Linked DNA regions of Homo sapiens: region 2 is linked to region 1. Evidence: promoter capture Hi-C in human tissues and cell types (Jung and others, 2019). All regions are on one chromosome and are shown on one strand. The core of a region is centred on a gene start or on the middle of the fragment in contact, and the rest is flanking DNA. Distances in the headings are between cores, read along the strand shown. Region 1 holds the start of RNF180 (ring finger protein 180). Region 2 overlaps RNF180 (ring finger protein 180).

Region 1 (4,971 bases), core at 796-3,295:
TATCCCTATGAAGGAAAGGACACATCACCATTCTTTTTTCAGATGGCCAAATGGAGGTGGTATAAGGGAGAGAGAACTGTGTTTATTCCATGAAAGCAACAATTAAGTCTAAGCACACTGTCCCCTTGTACTATGTAGTTAGCAAAATTTAAGCGAAATTTTTAATCTTTATGCTCCTTAATGAAAAAGACATTGTAAGAGTAAAAAGCATTATCATTCAGGTAGCTATGTCATATTACAGAAATATATTAAAATGATTAATTTATTGCATTCTTGCCTGGAAGAATTCCTGCTTCATGTATGAGGTGCTTATTAAAGAGGCTGGTGTCGGTCCTCAGACACACTCAAAAAAGTGCTAATTAAGTCTATTTTATCAAGAAAGAAATCTTGTTGATTTTTTCAATATTATTTTTTGAATTTTCGAAGAAAAAATCTTCACTTTGAAAAACCAAACACACAAAAAATGAAAGAGAGGAAGAAAAATGGGGTAATAAAATACCATTGACAAAACTAAGAGCAAACCCTAGGGAAACTGGTAAATTGTTGATGGTTCCAGAGAGATAAAGTACAACATAACACGTACACAATTACGAGATAATTTTTCATTACAATAATTAAAATGACTATTCTCCTAAATTTTTGATTCTTTATGAGAAAAAACTTACTCAAATATTCCGGGAAACCTAACAGCTCGCCTCCTCGATTCTACTTATTAAATAAATATTTAGAGTTTCTGCCATTGTCACCAAAGTATCTTTGGGCTGCCAGTGGCACTACATTTATACAAGAGACGAAAGTCTGACAGATAAAAGACAACGGAATTTTACTTCTTTCTACGACTCAAATGATACCACTCATTTGAAACTGAAGTGTTTATGATCTTTCAAGTATCACTTTTAGGGGTACTATAACAGGAGTCTGAAAGGAATTGACTCTATTTTTTAAGAAAGGTTTTAACAATTAATGAGTATATAAAAATACAATGAGCATCAGACCGTCCATCTTTGAGAGCTAAATTTTGTTTGAGACTAAGAGACCAACTGGACCAAGGACAACTCTAGTCAGACAAGTTCTAATCACAGATTCCACAAGGATTGACTGCTTAGTTTTGATATAATCACTTTGCCTCTTGGGTGCCTCAGCTGTCTGGTCTATAAAATGGGATAATAGTAACCCGACCGCATAATGCTCCTTTGAAGTTAACTAATGAATGCTCTCACAGATACACTTACAACTGTTAGATGCTACGAAAATAATGAGCACTATCTCGAAAAAAAACAAGGTGGAATATATGTGTTAGTGTTCATAACAGCACTAGTAATTTCCCACCAAAGGACCATCTCCCCACCTCCGCCCGATGGATTTCAGAGCTTATGACCTCTGCCTAGCAGAAAGTCGTACACTCCGGACCCAAGGCTGCAACAAAAGCGACTGCGACGCCGATACTGAAATGGGCTAGACAAAGGAAAGTGGAACCGTGCAGAGGGAATCGGCCGTGGAAGGGGCTGTGTGGTCCCCACAAGCTCCGAAATTAAACAAGACGCAGTTCCCCACCTCAGACCTGGAGAGGGTTCAGTACTGGACCCCTGGCACCCACCCCACCTTCCCCGGCCTCCTCCGCCACACCTACAGCGCCTCGCCTCCAGGACTCAGCTTTTTCGACCCTGTGTAATTCCAACCTCCAGGTGGGCGCGCCCCGAGGCCGCTCCGAGAGCCTCAGGTGCGAAAGTTAAGCCGCGGCCGCGTCACCTGAGGCCCGCCGGGCGAGAGGCGGCCAGGCCAGCGGCAACCCTAGCCCAGCCCCTTGGCACGTCCCCGCCTGGGCCAACGTGGGGGCCCGGGCCACCGCGGCTGGGTAGGGCCCGGCCGAGGCCAGGTCCCTCCGAGAGGCGCCGCCGCCGCGCCCCGCCCGACTCCGACCCGCCGGCCTTTACCTGTATCCACGTCCCGGAGCCTCCGGCTTCGCGCCCCGTCCCGGCGCTCCCGGCCGCCAGCAGCCAGGCTCTGAGGACTCGCTGCGGCTCCGGCGGCGGCGATGCCGGTTCGGCGAGACGGGAAGCGACAGGAGCCAAACCCCGCGGAAAGCGCTCGAGCTGTGCCTGCAGCCCCGACCCCGCGGCCTCGGACGTGGCGCCCCGGCGCTCGCCCGCCACAGCCAGCGGCCCTGCTCGCCCCACGTCTGCGGGTTCCCACCCGAGCCGCGCGTGGGCGGCGCCGGGCTTTGACCCCGCGCAGGCAGACAAGCGCCGCGGGCCAGACGGAACCGTGGGAAAGTTTTTCTCCCTTGTCATCCCCTTACCAGAGCCACAGAAATTATCCCTGTGGTCTCCCTTGTCCTCACTCGGCCTTTTCTGGAGTTAAGAGATCCAAGCCAACTACTGGGTCTGTTCCCTGCTAAAATCTTAGGCCGGCGTCCCATCCACCCATCCCCATGCCTAGGACTTTTAAGCTGGCAACGCTACCTGGGTTTAGTTTTCCCTTCGTATATCACTATCTTCGTTGCTTACCTTCTTGTGCCTAAAGTTCCACCGATGTGCAAGGAGATTAACCACTAAAGTGCACCTGACACTACTCTTGACAAATTGCAGTTGGGAGGTGAGTTGATGACTGGCGGTAAATCAAAAGTGCTTATTTAGGGAGTGAGGGGGCCGCGTGCAGTAAATGTTGACTTGCAGGTGCCTCATAGATGATCAAACGACTATAAATAAGATTCGGAATATAAAAAGCAAGTTTTATTAGTTGGCTTGAGGAGAGGGAAGGGAGCTAGGAGGGAACCTCAAAAAAAATATACAGCTTTGTTTCTCTGCTAGATACAGAAATTTTTATTTGCCTGAAGTGGCTTACTTGGAAACTTGTCCTAAGATTAGGGCTGTATGCAGTGACTTCCCATCTGGAAATACAAGGAAATAAAGAACAAAATGAAAGACATCACGAGAAAACTACAGACCAATATACCTTATGCATAGTAACATAAAAATCCTCAACAAAATACTAGCAAGCCAAACCCAGCAACATTTTAAAAAATTATACAACATGACCAAGTAGGATTTATCTCAGGAATGCAAGTTTGGTGTGACATACAAAATTAATGTAACACACTACTTTAAATAGACTAAATGTAAAAACCACATGATCATCTCAAAAGATGAAGGAAAAGCAATTGACAAAATCTAACACCCTTTCTTGATATAAACACTTCAACTAGGAATAAAAGGAAACTTCTTCAACCTAATAAAGAGCCTCTGAAAAATCCATAATTAACATCATACTTAATCTTGAAAGAATGAACATTTTCACCTAAAATCAGGAATAAGACAAGGATGTCAATTGTTGCTACTTCTATTCAACATTATAGTGGAGGCACTAGCCAGGGCAGTTAGGCAAGGAAAGGTGGAATATCTAACAGCTAGTAGAACAAAGAGAAGAAAGATAATTACCAAAGAAAACGAGGACAACAGTTCTCAGAGCTAAAGGACAGAAGCACATGAGCTCTCAGTTTAATGGATAAAAATTTTCTATAACCAAGTTGTGAAATTTCAAACCACATGAGTCAGAGAGATCTTAACTTTCATGGAGGAAAAAATAGGAGGTGATTTATGAAGATTTAGAAATCAGAATGGCATTGGATTCTCAACAGAAACATAAATAAAAGATAAATTCTGAGAAAAAAATGATTTCCAATTTTGAAATTGATGAAGTATGAGGTTTAAAAAGACATTTTCAAATATACAAAGGTTTAAATAGTATTTTCATGCATTCTTTCTCAGGAAGCAATTGGAGGATGTATTCTATAACAAAGTGGTTAGACAGAGAATCTGATAGAAAAGAGAAGTGAAGGTGACACCCGCAACAACTGTGGTAGGCAGAATGGCTCCCCCAAAATGTCCACATTCTAATCTCTGGATCCTGCAAAGATGTTACAGTATATAGAAAAGGGACTTTACTGATGTCATAAAAGTGACTGACCCAAATAGGGAGACTATTTCGGATTACCTACGTAGGCCCAGCCTAATCACATGAATCTTTAAAAGCAGAAAACTTTCTCCACCTAGAATCAGAAAGATGAGATGGCAAGAAATGTCAGAGAGCTTTGAAGCCTGAGAGAGACTTGACCTTCCTTTCCGGGAGGGAACCACCCTGGAAACACCCAAGAGGGAGAATGTGGGTAACTTCTAGAGGAAAAGATTGGCCTCCTGGCTGAATTTGCAGTGCTTCCTTTTTAAAGAAATAAACTTTTGGAGGTACAAGATTTATTACAAACAGGACTGAAAGAAGAAAGACAAGATGAAAGTCTTGATGCTTTCTAATTCAGTAATGTAATATAATCTCTTATTTCTGATGAAATCACAGGGATGAACTCAGAGAAATGATAAGGTTGACAAGTTTCACAAATAAAAACACAGGATGCCCAGTTAAAATTGAATTTTGGATAAACAGTGAATTAATTCTTAGTATAAAACACACTAAAAATATTTGGTTACTAAAAGTTAAAATTTAACTGGGTGTCCCATATTTATTGAGCAACCTTAAAAAGTGTAACTTCTGAGCAATGATTCTCAACCTTGGAAGCACATTGGAATAACCTGGAGTGCTTGTGAAAATACCAATGCCCTGTTCTTACTGTGGTACAATTCAATCAGAATTTCTTGATGTGGGATATCAGATGATTCTAAAGAAAAGTCAAGTATGAGAACCCATGACTCTAGAGAGGAATTAATTTGCACAGGTGTGATAAACTAAAAACAACCTCTCCAGTCATTTTACAACCAGAAGTGAAGAAACACTTTTTCCTTTAATAAACATCTTAACAAATATTCATCATCTCAAAGGTACAAACGAAGAGTATGATTTTCAATATTTCAGGAAGATCATTTACATTTTAGTAAAAAGACAGACAAAAACTCAGCTTTATGATTATAAGATACAAAATAAGTACAGATTTATTTTAACTACTAGGTAATTAGTATCTAA
Region 2 (4,971 bases), core at 1,737-4,236, 41 kb before region 1:
TATTTCACAAAATGTGGTCCCTAGATCACTAGCATTAGACATAAGTTGGGTTACTTACTAAAAATTTATACTCCTGGGACACACCTAAGAGTGTCTATAAATAAATCCCTACTTATGATCTTCATACACGCTAAACTTAAGAACCCAGAGACATCTTTTTTTAGTGTTTGATTTTGTGTGCTTCTGTCATCTGCCTTTTCTAAGTTCTAATAGTGATTAATTTACAATAACAGTTCAGTCATGACTAGCTTTTCTCTCCAACTCATACACAAAATTTTTAAAGAAACTTGGGAAACCTATTGGAAGTGACTCAATAAAACTAAACAGTATAGCTTTATCTATTTTGCCCCAGAAACAAAATAAAGGTATGGATACAGTTTTTGAAAAAGTAGAATTAATTTTGTGAAACATCCATACTCACACACACTAGCTCTTTTCATTAGGAGCTGACAATTATGAAGATTAGCATAACTCTAATGAATTCTTTAAAACAATCTTACAGAGAATACAAACTAGAATTGACAAATGAAGTAATCTTTTCATTATCAGATCCAGAATTTTGTTCTGACTTTTCAGGATTATGTCTACATACAGAGGAAGGAAAGAAGGGTGGCAGTGACAGAGAGAGGGAGGAAATTTCTACACTGGTAGAATAATAGATTATCAATGTCAAAGTAAGTTAATGGCACTCAGCCTATCAATATTTATTTAGTGATTACTAAACACAGTGTTGACCACACAAAGCATGTAGAGACATACTTATTAATATGCCAGGGACTGTGTTGCATAAAGGTACATCTATTATTTGTATTAATGTATTAATATTTCACTGTCCTACTTCTTATTTTACTATGTACATTTCATTATTTCATTTAATCATATAAATTGATCATTTTTTAATCACATAGCATTGATCATAACACGAAAAAACCACTACCCACTATAAATTTTGGAAATGCTTTATGAATACTCCTATGAGAATAAACACTGGAGTCACAGTTGTAGGTAGAAGAAAGTTTTACAATGTACTTATTCTTTTTATTTTCACTAAATAACAAATATTTATATTGTGCTCACTATGCACAGGCACCGTTTTAAGAGTTTTTACTGTCTTACAGATAAGAACACTGAAACAAGCGATCCCAAGCTTCCACATTGCCTCTTATGCCATATAAAATACTATAGTTTTTAGGGCAATAAACTTTCTTATATCTCTAGCCTGTGTATGCTTTAAGGTATGATACTGCTATTCTTCTCTAACGCTTATAAAACTAAAACTGAAGCATATCTTATTTTTAAATTAACTAAAATAAATTTATGTAGGGAGAGGTATGTTTAGAAAAAATTCCACAGCTGATTCTCCTTTTGTACCCCTCAACCCAACCTCCTTCATTTGAGAAAAAATAATATAAAACAGCATATATTTTTTTCTTTTAAATAGCTAAAATTTAAAGTATACCTTCATCTCCTCACAACCAAAAAGAGAGGAATAGCAATTCATACAGGTAGGAAAGCATAAAAAGCTGGGTTGAATTTATAGCATTGTTTCGTTTTCTGAAAACTTTACACATGGACCAGGGTAAACACAGACACCTCAACTATAAATGAAACTGCCAACTACTTTCACCTGTATTTACCAACACAGTCTTAGAAAAAATACATTTTTATTTGTAATATTTATTTCCAATATAATTCTACAAGTAAAGAGGATGTATCAACTATTAAGTTTTAAGTCAGTTAATTTTTTAAAATCACACAAATATATAAATGATAAAACAAGTTTTGATGGACATATTTTAAGATGAGTGATGAAACTGGAGGCAACCCAATTTTAGGAATTTAAAGCCATCAAAGTATTAGCACAACAAGTTATCTCCTCGGGAAAAATTTGACTGAAAATTAGAACTGTTTTACCAGGATTGTAAAAAAATTACTAAACAGATTTTCTTTCTGTCTCAAATCTCCCACACGGAGGAAGGAGGAAGGAAAAGGAGGAGAAAGTAATAGCAATTTCATGTAATAATGTCAGAAAAATGTTGACAACATTATGTTTGTAAATGAAATAATTTGTTCAAGCAGCAGAGGGAGCCAATGTATTATTTTAATTTTTTCTTTAAGTGTTGGGAATATTCTCAGTTTCTATAACAGAAAAATATCACTTAATTTTAAAATTACAAATTTGATGCCTTATTTTTTATCATTATGTGATCTTTAATATTTTTAATTAAGTGTAACAAGTTACATGTAAAAAGTTGATAATATTATTACATAATATTTTGGAAGATGTTTAACCCTTTGCATTTCCAAAGTAAGCAATAACATTCCTTCAGCTAATTCTTTAAATGTGAGCCAACTATATTATTTGACTACCGCAGCTAACACCACAGGGAAAAGACTATGTAACAAAAATGTCATTTAAATTAACATTATTAATTGTCTAAAGTGTCACAAATGTAAAGGAACCACAATTCTATTGGACTGCCTAGTTTGTCTATTTGTACTTTGAGAAGGTACTTTAAGGGTAAAAACTTTTTATAATCAAAAGGTCACAATGAATTGAAAAAAATGAAAGCCTCACTTAAAAAACAAACAGGCTCCCTGCCTCAATTCTTGGTACCTTTCTAATTCACTCTTCACACTATTACCAAAATAATCTTAAAATTCAAAAGTCATGTTACTTCCTCCCACTGACTTGCCAGCTCCTACGATAAAGATCAAAGTCTTTGACTTACAAGACCATACATGATTTGAACAACACCCAACTTTCTACTCTCAGATCTTGCCAAACTCCCTCTTCATCTCTGAACTCCAATAGTGGCAATCTATTTTAGTTCCGGAGATCCACCACAGGGCCTTTGAACACGCTGGTCCTGAATCTTGGAATGTTCTCCCACCTGTACTGTCCTCACTTATCCATCATATCTCTACACAGGTCACTTCCTCAGAAAAGCCTTACAGCTAGGTCCAGCATTCTATCTATATCCTACTCTTATGGCTTCCTATACTTTTCCTTTTTGCCACTTAAACAGCTAATAATTTATATCTATATGAGTAATCAATATTTAATATTTACATAACTGGTCAATATTATAAATATTAAATTATTTCACTATTAAGTTATAAATATCAAACTTTTAATATGATTATAATATAATTAGAATACATTTATAATTGTTATAATATTAATAGAAGATTAAATGATAAATCCTGAAAACTTCATAAGGACATACCATTTCTCTTCTGCTCATCTTTGAGTTTCCAGTTCCTATTACAGGACGTGTGTGGTCTTAGTCTGCTTGGGATGCCATCACAAAATACCAGAGACTGAATGACTTAAACAATAGCAACTTATTTTCTCTCAGTTCTAGAGGCTGAAGGTTTGAGATCAGGGTGCCAGCATGTTCTGGCTCTGGCGAGGGCTCTCTTTCTAGCCTGCAGGTGGCTGCTTACTCACTGTGTCCTCACAGGATCTCTTTCTCTTTTCTTCCTTTTATAGAGCCACAGTCCTATTGGATTAAGGCCCCATCTTTATGCTCTCATTTAACCTTCATTAACTCCTAAAGACCCTATCTCCAGATATAGTCACACTGCACCTTTAAAATATGCACTTGGAGGGCATACAATTCAGTCCATAGCATAGCATGTGCTAAGACTAGTATGGAACAAATATACGGTATCACTAAGAAGAGCGAACACAAAGTATTAAAAATGTAATAAGCATAAAAATATTTATTTCAGTATTACAGCCATTGAAGGAAAAATACCACCAGAATAATAAAGCCAGAGAGAAAATAAGCAAATTATCTAACCAAAAAACATGAGGGAGGAGGTATATACTCTAATAATCAATTCAACATTCATCAGTCCTATTCATGTCAGCCACTGCATTGGCAATGGTGTTATACAGATGAAATACTTCATAGCCTGGTGATGGAAGAAGTCATAACCTAATAATTAAAGTGTTTTATTGTAAGTGTTTGACCATCCCTCAGCTCCCAATTATCTGAACCCAGTAGAATTTGGTAACTGCCCCTAAAAGTCTCATAACTACAATGAATGTTGACCAACGATTTCTTTTAAAACCAATGGACACTTTTAACTCTCATTTAGGGTCTTTACATATGGATATATAGTTTGTATGCTAACTGCACAAATCCAGGGCAAACCTTTCACAAACTAGCTCCCTCTAGAATTGTGCAGTATACAATCTGCACACTGAAGGAAATGTCTGATCTTCTAGATCTCATTTAACATTTAACACGAATCATCAACACTTTTTTTTTCCTAGAGAATGTTCGTCCCTTGACTTCCATAATATTGTATCCTAATTTTCGGTTCTATTTTTTCACTCTTTTTCTTCTCCTTTGTGGAGCTTCTCTTTTTCTGTCTATCCTGTAAGTGTTCCTATATGATAGTAACTACTGCTCTCTCCTATTTTCGGTTCTATTTTTTTCACTCTTTTTTTTTCTCCTTTGTGAGAGCTTCTCTTTTTCTGTCTATCCTATAAATGTTCCTGTATGATAGGAACTACTTAACTCTCACTCCATTCATACACTGCATGGTAATCTCATCTACTCTCACAGCTTCACCTAAAACTTATATGCTGATGATCCACAGTTTTAGTTCAGATCTCTCTTCTGAATCCCACATCCATAGAACCGAGCAGCCTCCTAAAATATTTGAATATTCTACAGGCCACATAAACTTCACATGTCCAAAACCATAACAAAACTAACTAAAACTAAGGACGCCACTCCCTAACACAGATTGCACAAATGGAGACCATTTCTGTTATTTTATTTCTACATCTTTAGGGTCTTTGTTGCTGTTATTTTGTTTTTGGTTTTTGCCCACATTTCATCTATCTCAGGTCTGGATGCAAGGTCGAAGTCCCCCTTTCTCCTTGTGGACGTTGTAGATTGTCTGAAAACTCCATTCTAAATTGCCTTTCTCATGTCTTACAGCATGCCA

What was found. Contacts are between HindIII fragments. The study calls those that stand out against the background at their distance.
Region 2: a contact is called between a fragment that was not itself captured here and the fragment with the promoter of RNF180 in region 1, in 3 of the 25 tissues and cell types used here (heart right ventricle, hippocampus and thymus).

Annotation. Positions count from the first base shown.
Region 1 is chr5:64,162,917-64,167,887 of GRCh38, reverse strand. RNF180 (ring finger protein 180) reads right to left here and starts at 2,045. Exons shown (of 8, transcript NM_001113561.2): 1 at 1,935-2,045. The HindIII fragment of the contact is 11,374 bases long and covers 1-4,971 here.
Region 2 is chr5:64,205,289-64,210,259 of GRCh38, reverse strand. The region is part of intron 2 of RNF180 (ring finger protein 180); the gene reads right to left. Among named protein-coding and RNA genes, the nearest start is that of RNF180, 42 kb to the right of the region's middle. The HindIII fragment of the contact is 5,932 bases long and covers 21-4,971 here.